Linked DNA regions of Homo sapiens: region 1 is linked to region 2. Evidence: promoter capture Hi-C in 16 types of primary human blood cells and fetal thymus (Javierre and others, 2016). All regions are on one chromosome and are shown on one strand. The core of a region is centred on a gene start or on the middle of the fragment in contact, and the rest is flanking DNA. Distances in the headings are between cores, read along the strand shown. Region 1 has its middle 11 kb from the start of LINC02684. Region 2 holds the start of GLB1L2 (galactosidase beta 1 like 2).

Region 1 (5,773 bases), core at 1,270-3,769, 730 kb after region 2:
AGAGATTTTGCAGAAAATCTTTGAATTCAGTCGAAACCTCAAAGCCCACACTTTAGGAGTGTGGCTACATTAGTTCAAGAGTAAAGACTAAATTAGATCAATTCCCCCTTGCCTCAGAAAATCCTAAAGCCAAACCTGAAATATGATAAACTGATTCACCAGTAAAGTAATGACCTTTAAAGACAAAACTCTTTGAAGGAAGAAAACAAAATCCAGACCTGCAGAATATACATTCTTTTTACATGCATATGGAATGTTCATCAAGTAAACTATATGACGGGTTATAAAACCATTCTCAGCATATTTAAAATGAATAAAATCATAAAGCATGTTCTCTGTCCATAAGAGAAATTAATTACAAATCAATAGCAAAACTGTATTTGGGAAATCACCTGTATATTTGGAAATTAAACAACCCACATAACTTAAAGACCAAACAAAAAGATTAAAATTTTAAAGTGTATTTGAAATGAACAAAAATGAAAAGGCAACTTCCCAAAATATGTAAGGTGCAATTAAAACAGTGATTATAAAGAAAATGTATAGCTCCAAACCCTCATATTAGAAAAACAAGATATGTTTAGAAACAATAATCCAAATGTTCACTTTTAATACCTAGAACATGAAGAAAAAATTATACCTAAGGTAAGCAGAAGGACGGATGTAATAATACTAGGATTGAAAATCCATAAAATAGAAGATGAACAAATAGTAGAATGTTTATTAAGTAGTTCTTTGAAAAGATTAAAAATCCTGATAAATCTTGGTTAAATTGCTCAAGGAAAAAAAGAAAATATAAATTACCAACACTAATAATGAAAGAAGAATCATTACTATATCCTTCAGACGTTAAAACGTTAACAAGAAAATATTTTGGACAAGTTTATACAAATAAATTCAACCTTGTAGTTGAAATAGACCACTCCCTTAAAAAATCAAAACCAAAAACAGTTTACCCAAACTGAAAAATGGTAAATTAGAAATTATGTATTGCCCTACATATACAGCAAAGGAACTGAGTTTGTTTCAAAAGAAAAAGGAATCTTCCTAGAGAGAAATCTTCATTTAGCTCAAAGAGCATATGTGTGTGCCAGTGCTGTGGTGTATGTGAGTGCTGGGTGTGTGCATGCACACGTGTGAGTATTGTGTGTGACTACTACGTATGTGCATGCACACGTGTGAGTACTGTGTGTGCATGTGAGTACAGTGTGTGGGCATGCACACTTGTGAGTATTGTGTGTGAGAATACTGTGTGTGCAGGCACACGTGAGTACTGTGTGTGCAGGCACACATGTGAGTACTGTGTGTGCATCTGAGTAGTGTGTGTGTACTTTGTGTGTGTGTGCGTGTGTCTTTGTGTTTGAGCCTATGTGTGGATTCATTGCTGTGTATGTCTTTTCTTTCAACAATTGCACATGTTCAATGATCCAGCACAGGAGCATTTTCTCATATGCTCAATGCTGCACACATTGGGTACTGTACTATTGTGTTGCTCTAAAGGATTACCTGGGGCTGGGTAATTCAGAAATTAAAGAGGTTTATTTGGCTCACAGATTTGCAGGGTATTGAGGTGGGGGAGCACAAGTTTAATTATCATCCACTGATATTCTCTGAGCTATACGAGAAGCATGGCATCAGCATCTGCTTCTGGTGAGGCCCTCAGGGAGCTTCCACTCCTGGTGTAAGGGGAAGTGGAACTGGCTTCACATGGGGAGTTAGAAGGAAAGAGAGAGTGGGGAGGGAGGTGCCAAGCTCTTTATAACAATCAGTTCTCCTGGAACTCACTCATTATTGCAAAGGAGGCACCAAGCTAATCATGAGAGATCCACCCCCATGGCCCAACACCTCTCACCAGGTCCCACTTCCAACATTGTGGATCACATTTCGAGATGAGTTTTGGAGGAGACCAATATTTAAACTCTGTCACACAGTAATAAGAAGAAGACTAAGAATTATAAGTAAATAATTGATGCTGTTTCAGGTTTCTCTGGGAGAAGAAAAGAAGGTACTATTTCTGAAGAGAATATACTTTGAGAAATGAAGTATAAGATGCATATTTTCAAACCAATTTATCAAGTTTCCATTTTAAGCCTTCACATGTGGCACACGTGAATCATTCACTGTTTTAGATGGCCACTGGTAAAGAGGTTTATGGATATGTTTTAATGGCATCACAGCGTCACTCTGATGTTGGACACGTGGATTGGACACACTGTGAGTCTGTGGGAGCTGCTTCATGCCTATGGAAATTCTCAAGGTAACTTAGCATTTTTGCAGTTGTATCACTCATCGTTGCCCTCCGAGCACCACATTCACAATGCCTATGATTTCTTCTCCTAAATTTACCATCCATCAGCCAGTAGACACCTCAACATTACATGAATAGCCAGTTTTAATTTACTCTGGTGGGTCATTGCAATTTTTTTAAGTTGTTTCAAGAATCTGTAAATACAAATCATCATTATTAACCTGCAGGAGTTTTGTGTTTTCTGTTTTCTCTTTATCTTTTTAGGGTATCTTTGGAAAGCCAAGCACAGCTTGTTTAGGAAAGCAGATTTTTTTTTTTTTTTGAGATGGAATCTCGCTCTGGCACTCAGGCTGGAGTGCAGTGGCGCAATCTCAGCTCACTGCAACCTCCGCCTCCTGGGTTCAAGCAATTCTCCTGCCTCAGCCTCCTGAGTAGCTGGGATTACCAGTGTGCACCACCATGCCTGGCTAATTTTTGTATTTTTAGTAGAGATAGGCTTTCACTATGTTGGCCAGTCTGGTCTACAACTCCTGACCTCAGGTGATCTGCCCACCTCGGCCTCGCAAAGTGCTGGGATCACAGGCGTGAGCCACTGCAATCTGCCCCTGAGAACGGATTTTGCAGGCTATTGAGGTGGAGTAGCACAATTTTCATCTCAGCTCCTCCCTCTCTGAGGTTGGAAACAGCTGAGTGCCTTCTGTCTCTCTCTCAAGCCTCTGTTCCTCACCCCTGCCCTGGCAGCCTTTGCTCAGCTCCTAAAGCAATGGAGAGGTCTTTCTAACAGCAGTGAGTTTATTGCCCAACTGTGTGGGGTTCTGGGGGACGGGATTGGCAGATGAAGGAGAGAGGGCTCAGTCCCTGATCTGCAGACCTGTATTTTTCTTCCGATCAACACATTTCTTTTTATTATTATTATTATTATACTTTAAATTTTAGGGTACATGTGCACAACGTGCAGGTTTGTTACACATGTATACCTGTGCCATGTTGGTGTGCTGCACCCATTAACTCGTCACTTAACATTAGGTATATCTCCTAATGCTAACCCTCCCCGCTTCCCCCACCTCACAACAGGCCCTAGTGTGTGATGTTCCCCTTCCTGTGTCCGTGTGTTCTCATTGTTCAACTCCCACCTATAAGTGAGAACATGTGGTGTTTGGTTTTTTGTCCTTGTGATAGTTCACTGAGAATGATGGTTTCCAGCTTTATCCATGTCCCTACAAAGGACATGAACTCATCTTTTTTTATGGCTGCATAGTATTCCATGGTGTATATGTGCCACATTTTCTTAATCCAGTCTATCAGTGATGGATATTTGGGTTGGTTCCAAGTCTTTGCTATTGTTAATAGTGCCGCAATAAACATACGTGTGCATGTGTCTTTATAGCAGCATGTTTTATAATCCTTTGGGTACATACCCAGTAATGGGATGGCTGGGTCAAATGGTATTTCTAGTTCTAGATCCCTGAGGAATCACCACGCTGACTTCCACAATGGTTGAACTAGTTTACCGTCCCACCAACAGTGCAAAAGTGTTCCTATTTCTCCACATCCTCTCCAGCACCTGTTGTTTCCTGACTTTTTAATGATCACCATTCTAACTGGTGTGAGATGGCATCTCACTGTGGTTGTGATTTGCATTTCTCTGATGGCCAGTGATGATGAGCATTTTTTCATGTGTCTTTTGGCTGCATAAATGTCTTCTTTTGAGAAGTGTCTGTTCATATCCTTCGCGCACTTTTTGACGGGGTTGTTTGTTTTTTTCTTGTAAATTTGTTTGAGTTCATTGTAGACAGGAGGACTAAGAAGCAGCCTGAAAGATGAATTCCTGTGGGGAGGGTGAGGAGGCTGGGGATACACGGGCAGAGGCAAGGATCTGGAGGAAGCAGAAGTCAGATGTCACCTCCGTGAGCTTCACCAGGGCCCTGGAGTGCTCTCAGAAATTTTGTTCAGACTGGGCAGGAAGTGTCGGTCATCCCATCAGACCTCCTTTGAGTTTCTCTGCACAGAGTCAGGCCCACTGAGGAGGCAAGGAGAAGTCTATGGGTTCCTTATGCCCTGGAGCTCTGTAAGGAAAACGTGAGGACAGGGTGTCCTTTCATCACATAAGGCTAAACATCTTATGGAATATTATACATTCCAAGCTGAGAATACCAGTTAAGTTTCTTCATTTGAAGGTGGGAGAAGGCTTTGGAGAGATAAAGAGGCACCGACAGAAGCAAACATTCAGAGACCCAGGCTCATAAAAGGACAAGTGGCCCCAGGAATCTGGGTCTGAGCAGCCAATGACAGTGTCTTTGAGGGGTTGTCATAGTCAGAACACATAAATCTCAACCATTTCAAGCTCAAGATTTGTGGATAAGGAAATCTGTTTAGCCAGAGTTGCTCATCATTTGACTGAAAGAGGGAAGGTTCCTTAGTTGTTCCTTCAAAATCCTGGAGGATAGTGAAGGTTCTTGATGGTTCTTTACCCAACAGAAAATCAGGAGCCTTTTTGGCAGGTTACACATTGAAAGTGGGGCTGAGCCAGCAACACCTGCTTCTGGGTACCCCGGGGCACTGTCCTCCTTGATTGTCTTGTTGCCTGCAGCCAGCCGTCAAGCCTGACCACAGTTAGAGGCTCAAGAGTTGGAGGGGAGCTCCAAGTTTATCAAGAGCAGGCCGTGGGACCAAGTTTTGCTTGTTCAGTTGTTTGTTTGCATGTTTATCTCAATTTACAATCGATCGTAGACTGTAAAATGTCATAATAATGAAAAACAAAGATAAGACAAACAAGGAAGAGTAATTAGAAAAAAGTAAAACCAAAATAAATTTAAATGTAAAGAAATAATTGAAAAACAAAAGATAATAAAAGCAAAAAAAATCCCTGATTAGTTGGAGGTAGCAGCAATGTCAAATTGCTGTAAAGGTTCCTCAAAGCTTATCCCATCTTCTGTATGTATCTGGTCTAAGGATGATAACATCACTGATCTTGGCTGCCAGTTCTCAACTTTACACATTAGGGTGACCTGGAGAGATCTTCAAAGTGTTAATATATGGGGCGCCTCAAATATTTCAATTTAATTAGTCTGTTGTGAGACCTGTGAATTACCATTTTTAAAAACTCTTTAAGTAATCACAATGAGCAGCAGAGTGAAAAGCCACTGATCCAGACTGATGTTTTTTAACCTGCATAAGTGTGAGAATCACCATGGAAATTTATAAACGTACGTGCGCACAGCTCCCACTCAAATTTTACAAAATTCCAATTTCTGGTGGTGGTTCCAGGACAGTGGTGCATTTACAAAACACCACAAGGGATTCTAAAGGATACTCCTAGATTAGAGCCAGAAATTCAGTCCAAATACCTTATTTTACTAATAAGGAAACAGACTCTGAAAGGTGAAATGTCAAACTTGATCATTAGCAAATCTAGTTATCTTTTGAGAAAGAGAGGCATATTGAAGTTTTTAATAAACTTTAGCCAACTGTATCAGATCCTCTGAGGGTGAGGAAAGATAGCACATGCAGCCTTAAGCTGCCCTA
Region 2 (6,192 bases), core at 3,693-6,192:
GCCTGTGTCCAGTTCACCAACGTTTACCACATACTAAATCCACGGGTCGATCCTCAGTGTTGCTTTAACCTCACCTGTTGGTGGCATGGTTCCTTGCCTTTTCTCAGTGTTAGGTGTGCCAGGGCTTGTCCCCATCCCCTTTCTCGGTCTGCACTTTGTTAATTGGTGCAGGTTCTTGCCTTTAAATACCAGCTCTCTGTCAACTCCTAAATTCGTATCTCCATCCCAAACCTCTTTCTGGACCATCAGGATTGATGTTCAGCAGCCTGCGTGGTGTCTCCACTCCACTCCACTCAATGCAGCAGGTCCAAGCTGAGCTACTGATGTCTCCCAGAAACTTGCCCATGACCTTCCCCATCTCAGGTCACAGCGACCAGCACTTCTTGTTTCTCAGGCCCAGCCTGTGGGAGACATTCTTAAGCCCCCTTTATTTCTCTCCCCCTACAAACAATCCACGAATTGCAACAACCCTCTCATGTCTGCTTTCCGAATACTCCCAAAAATTCAACACTTCTCACTACCTCCACCGCTGTCCCCTGAGCCAGCATCGTCTCCCATATGGATTACTGCATGGCACCAGTGATCCTTCTAAGTTATCATCACCGCCATGTTCAAACCATGCAGTGGCTCCCATTTCATTCAGAGTCAAAGCCCTGCTCTTAAAGGCCCTGCATGATCAGGCCCCTGTATCTCTCTGTCCTCATCTCCTGCCTTCTTGCCATCACCTCCCACGCTGTCCTCCTAGCCTTTCCTTGGACACCAGGGACACCAGGTCATGCTCCTTCCTGAGGGCCTTGGTACGAGCTGCTCTGTCTGCTTGGACAGTGCTTCCTCCAGGTTCTATCTTGGTTCGCTTGCATGGAGAACTCCCACTGTGTTCCGATCTTTGTTCAGCTAATGTCTTTCCGGGGAGACCGCCTCTCTGCAGACCCCTCCCCACCACATTCCCAGTCCTCCTTCCCTTATTACTTTTTTTTTTTTTTTTTTTTGAGATGGAGTCTCACTCTGTTGCCCGGGCTGGAGTGCAGTGGAATGATCTTGGCTCACTGCAACCTCCACTTTCAGGGTTCAAGCAATTTCTGGCTAATTTTTGTATTTTTAGTAGAGACGGGGTTTCACCATGTTGGCCAGACTGGTCTTGAACACCTGATCTCAAATGATCTGCCTGTCTCAGCCTCTCAAAGTGCTGGGATTACAGGCGTGAGTCACTGGGCCTGGCTCCCTTATTACTTCTTAAATTTTTGCAATGGAGTTTACTACCTTTGAATATACTCTACAGTTTACTTATTCATTCTGTTAAGTTTTATTGTCTTTCTTCCCTAGCTAGAACAGAAATTTCAAAGAGAAGAGATCTTTGTTCTGTCCACTGATACATCCCAAGCATGTGAAACAGTGTTCAGTATGTTGTTTATGGTCATTAAAATTTGTCATTTACTTTTTAATAAATACAATGCTGCAGAATTAGATCTTTGGCTATTAGGCCTTCAAAGGCTGAGCCTACAAAATGATAGTTAGGCTTGGTAAGGCCAAAGATCAAGTTCTGTGCATCCTTATCGGATGTGCACAGGCCCCTTCCAGTCCCACTCACATATCTTTGGGGCTGAAAAGCTTTGTCTACTTCCTTTATCTTAAATCTGCCTTCTCTTTTCTTTTTCCTAGGCCAAATCTCCATTCCAGGACTTTCTATTTTGTTTTGGCTAGGGTTGAAATGGCCCTCATTTATTCCCAGGAATTCTCCTGTGCTCTGAATTTCTTTGTTCAAGACCCCTGGCAACTTGACATCATAACTGGACTTTGCTTCTCCTGAGGGGAGGGTGGATGGGGGTTGCTGGACAGAGGTGTCTGTCCATAAGGAGGAGGTGGGGAGGAGAGGGTTATATCTTGGTCCAGGGGCCCAAGTGACTGTACTATCGTAGAAGCCACATTTTTCATCTTATTCTCATGACTAAAAGAAATTTTGCCAATGTTTTCCTAAAATTCAGATATCCTGTGTTTAAAGCATTAGCAGAGTGCCCTCAAAAATGAGTTACGTGAATGAATAACTGATCTGTAAACCTGTTACCTATTAAAAATAAAAAGTGAAACAGCAAATGAGACTAGTTTGACATGATCGCTTTTCCCACGTGACTTCACTGTACTGATTTTGAGCGAGTGTGGTTTTTATTCTCCTGTGTGTGCATTTTGTATGTGTTTCGGTTTCCCGCTGATTATCTGTGATACAGGAATTTTCAAGGAAGGAACTGTGCCCTCTGGGTCTGTTGGAGCTCTGACTTAGAGCAATGGAAATGGCACACCAACAAGATTTAACTTTTTTAAAAAGCATTTCTTGTATTTTCTAAACCCTGGACACTAGAAAGAAGGCCTGGGAAGAGGATGATTCCTGTGTACCAGGGATTCATTACCAAGCCAAGCACCTTGGCAGACCACTTTTTTACCCCACTCTTATGCCAGCTCATTGTAACTGTAGCTTTTGTTCCCAGGGATTTGAGTATTTTCACTGTCTGCTTTGGGTTAAGATCACTAAACATTTTGGAAAGGAGACACTGAAGGAGTATCTTGCTAATTTTTTTTTTTTTTTTTTTTTGAGACGGAGTCTCGCTCTGTCGCCCAAGCTGGAGTGCAGTGGCACGATCTCGGCTCACTGCAAGCTCTGCCTCCTGGGTTCACGCCATTCTCCTGCCTCAGCCTCTTGAGTAGCTGGGACTACAGGCGCCCGCCACTACGCCCGGCTAATTTTTGTATTTTTAGTAGAGATGGGGTTTCACCGTGTTAGCCAGGATGGTCTCGATCTCCTGACCTCGTGATCTGCCCCCCTCGGCCTCCCAAAGTGCTGGGATTCAGGCTTGAGCCACCGCACCCGGCCTAATGTTTTAAAAAACAAAAGTCTCAGGCTGGAAATGGTGACTCACGCCTGTAATCCCAGCCCTTTGGGAGGCCGAGGCAGGTGGATCACCTGAGGTCAAGAGTTTGAGATCTGCCTGGGCAACATGGTGAAACCCCGTCTCTACTAAAAATACAAAAATTAGCCGGGGAAGGTGGTGGGTGCCTGCAGTCCCACCTATTCGGGAGACTGAGGCAGGAGAATAGCTTGCATCCCGGGAGGCATTGCAGTGAGCTGAGATTGCACCACTGCACTCCAGCCTGGGTAACAGAGTGAGACTCTGTCTCAAAAAAAAAAAAAAAAGTCTCAGCCTATGAGCAAGACGCATCTCGGGTTAGTGCTAACTTTGTAGCATTCTGTGGTATCATTAAGCCCAGATAAAGTAAAATTGTTCCTAGACTGTGAGCAGGGTGTGTCCCTAGTTCTGAACATCCCACAAGGTTAAGGGGAAATTTTTTTGAAAACACTCAGTTATGTATATTTTTCTCGCACAAATAAAAACGAAGGATACAAGGGTGGGCCAAGGAGTTCACGGTTTTCACAACCCATGTTAAGTTTTTGCTAACGTTTGAAGAAAAATGGAGATGCTTGTATTGCTTAAACCATTTGAGAATTCCCTTATATTTGATAGATTCTGCCACTGTTCAACGTGACCAGAAGTGAGAGGATGAATGTGGGGTGCATGTCTTTCGGATGGTCCCCTGCAGGCAAAGGGGCTAGCCTTTGACAATTTCTCCACACGCTTCGGGGCTAGCTGGTATATTCCAATTAAACCAACATGTTTCCATCACAGACTTCATAGCCATCAAGCAATCATAGCCTTACCCAATGGAGAAAAGGAGCGGGCTTGGAGCGCGTCCACGGGAGTGGGCCTCCCTCTGCGCGCCTCTGGGAATGTTTGCGGTGCTTAAGTCAGACCCGGATTGCTCCAAGCCCAGCTTATCCTCCCCAGTTCTGCCAGGGTTTTTTTCCTCTTGTTTGTTCGTTTGTTTTTGCCTCTCTTTGATTTAACTTTTGCTCCTTGACTAAATATGTGCTTAACGCTAGACAAAGGACACTTCATACCCAAGTCTGTGTCTTTGTTCCAAGATCTGCAATTTCATTTGGTTCCTGTCGGCTTTACAAGTTCAAAACTATGCCCCCGTTTAGGAAATGAATTCAAAGCATGCGGCAAGGGAGACATTCGACAAACCCGGATGCTCTGGAAAACGTTGCCCTTCCTCGAGTTTCTTTCAGTAAAATCTGAATTTTGTTCCCGGGAGGAGTTGGGTTTGTGATTGCTACAGTGTAAGTTGCACCGAAATACTACATCATGTTCTTTGGGACATACATTCTGTTTCAGAATAAGAATGATATTCTTCCTTTCCTAAAATGTGAGAGTTTTATATGGACCTTTTTAAAATAAAAAATTGGAAGCCCTTGGAGTCAAGGCCAGAGTAAGACTCGCAGAAACCAAAGACAGAAAATATTTGGAACCCCCCCTCCTCAGACATGAACCACACTGAAATGTGTCCAGATACAATTCTTCAAAATCCTGGCTTTTCACAGGATGATTTGTTATTGAAAAAGTTGTTTGCTTCAGAATCTGAATTGTTTTAAAAGATTCTGTTGGTTGCCCCTGCTTTGCGGACGCCTTTTGTACGTTCTTCCTGATGTAGCGCTGCGAGGGGCGACTTTACCTCGGCGTTTGACAGGTACGCAGCATTCCCGCACCCGCCTGCGCCTCGCGAGCAGAAAGACGGCGGACTCTGCACCGCTCCACGACACTGGGGACCCGCCCCGGCCAGACCCGTCCCCTACCGAGACCTTGTCCCCGCCCCGCCCCCGGCCGGGGCCCCGCCCCGCCAGCCCCGCCCCCGCCAGCCCCCTCTCCTACCGAGACCTCGTCCCCGCCCACCAGCCCCGCCCCGCCCCCCCCCCGACAGAGGCCCCGCCCCGGCCCCGGCCAGCCCCGCCCCCGCTTGCGCGAGGCCTAGGGCTGCAGGCGCGGAGCCGCGAGCCCCAGCCAATGAGCGCCGGCGGGCCGGTTGCCCAGGCGACCAGTGCGCGGCTCCGCCCCCCGCGGCGAGGCTCCCGCGCGCGGCTGAGTGCGGACTGGAGTGGGAACCCGGGTCCCCGCGCTTAGAGAACACGCGATGACCACGTGGAGCCTCCGGCGGAGGCCGGCCCGCACGCTGGGACTCCTGCTGCTGGTCGTCTTGGGCTTCCTGGTGCTCCGCAGGTGAGAGAGAGCTTCGCGCAGCACCTGCCGGACCCCACATTCCCCAGCCCTCCGCACCTCGGGTTCTCTCCTCCCGCGACCCGCGAATCCCGAGTTCCCGGGGGGAGCAGCCCCAGCTGCTTCTTTCTGGGAGCTCCCCAATACCCCCGAGTTCCCCTGCGGCTGCAGGCACTCTACTCCTGCCGCGCGATCCAGGCCTCTGGGCGACACCCGGCGTGCCCTCGGGAGCCGGCGTCTGTGCCCCGAGCCGCCCACCCCGCCGCGCCTGTGACGCCGGGCTCTGCCCCCCGTGGACGCCCGCAGCCCTCCAGCCGTCAGAGCCCTCTCAGACGCACCCCATCGCGGCCCCGTCCCCACTGCTCCGCGGAGAGCTCCCTCTGCCCTTCCCCCAGGCCCCCCTTTTCCTCCCAAGCCTCTGGGAGGCGCCTTATTCCGCAGAGGCCGGCGCTTCAGCCTGGCAGGTATGGTCTAGCCAGCTGGCCTGGCAGGGTCGTAAGAACAGTGTCCGTGGGCCTCCAAGATCCCGGGCCATGATTTATTTGCACAGTAGGACTGATAGGTCGTCTCTCTCCACTTTCCCACCATTCACCTGTTACCAGCTCACCCTTTCCTCTCCCCCTTTTCCAAATGTTGTTTATGGCAAAGGAGTGGCTTCAGTGATACTGTGATTTACCCACAGCCTGTGAAAAAGTTTTCTGGGTGCCCTAGCCCAGCATTTTTCTAAACTGTGCTTATTTTAAGGATTCTACAGCCCTGACCCTATCTTTCAGGTCAGCACTTTCCATATTCAAAACCTCCAGTGGGAAGCCGACCGGCAGTATCGAATGAACTGAACGGTTGGAAGTGGTGGCAGGCCCTACGCCGCTCGGCTTTGTCATTTGCTTCTTTTTTACTTAGAGAAACTAAGTTCTTAGTTTCTCTGCACTTCCCCTGGGAGACAGGGAAGTTTTTGATGGAGATAAATATCTGGAAGTCCTTTGTGGCCAGAAGAACACACTGACAAACTCTATGTTTACACCTTGTCAAGACTGGATTCTTGTTTCTGAGATAGTGGGGACGTCATGATATTGTTTGGGAGAAGGACGGATTT

Evidence for each region. The method cuts DNA at HindIII sites, captures the fragments that hold promoters and counts their contacts. A CHiCAGO score of 5 or more calls a contact.
Region 1: a contact is called between a fragment that was not itself captured here and the fragment with the promoter of GLB1L2 in region 2, in 1 of 17 cell types (endothelial precursors). The highest score is 5.3, in endothelial precursors.

Annotation. Positions count from the first base shown.
Region 1 is chr11:135,062,012-135,067,784 of GRCh38, forward strand. No RefSeq gene overlaps it. Among named protein-coding and RNA genes, the nearest start is that of LINC02684, 11 kb to the right of the region's middle. The HindIII fragment of the contact is 5,291 bases long and covers 1-5,165 here.
Region 2 is chr11:134,327,046-134,333,237 of GRCh38, forward strand. GLB1L2 (galactosidase beta 1 like 2) reads left to right here and starts at 4,943. Exons shown (of 19, transcript NM_001370461.1): 1 at 4,943-5,102. The coding sequence starts at 5,017. RefSeq lists a silencer at 4,793-5,092. The HindIII fragment of the contact is 5,891 bases long and covers 1,607-6,192 here.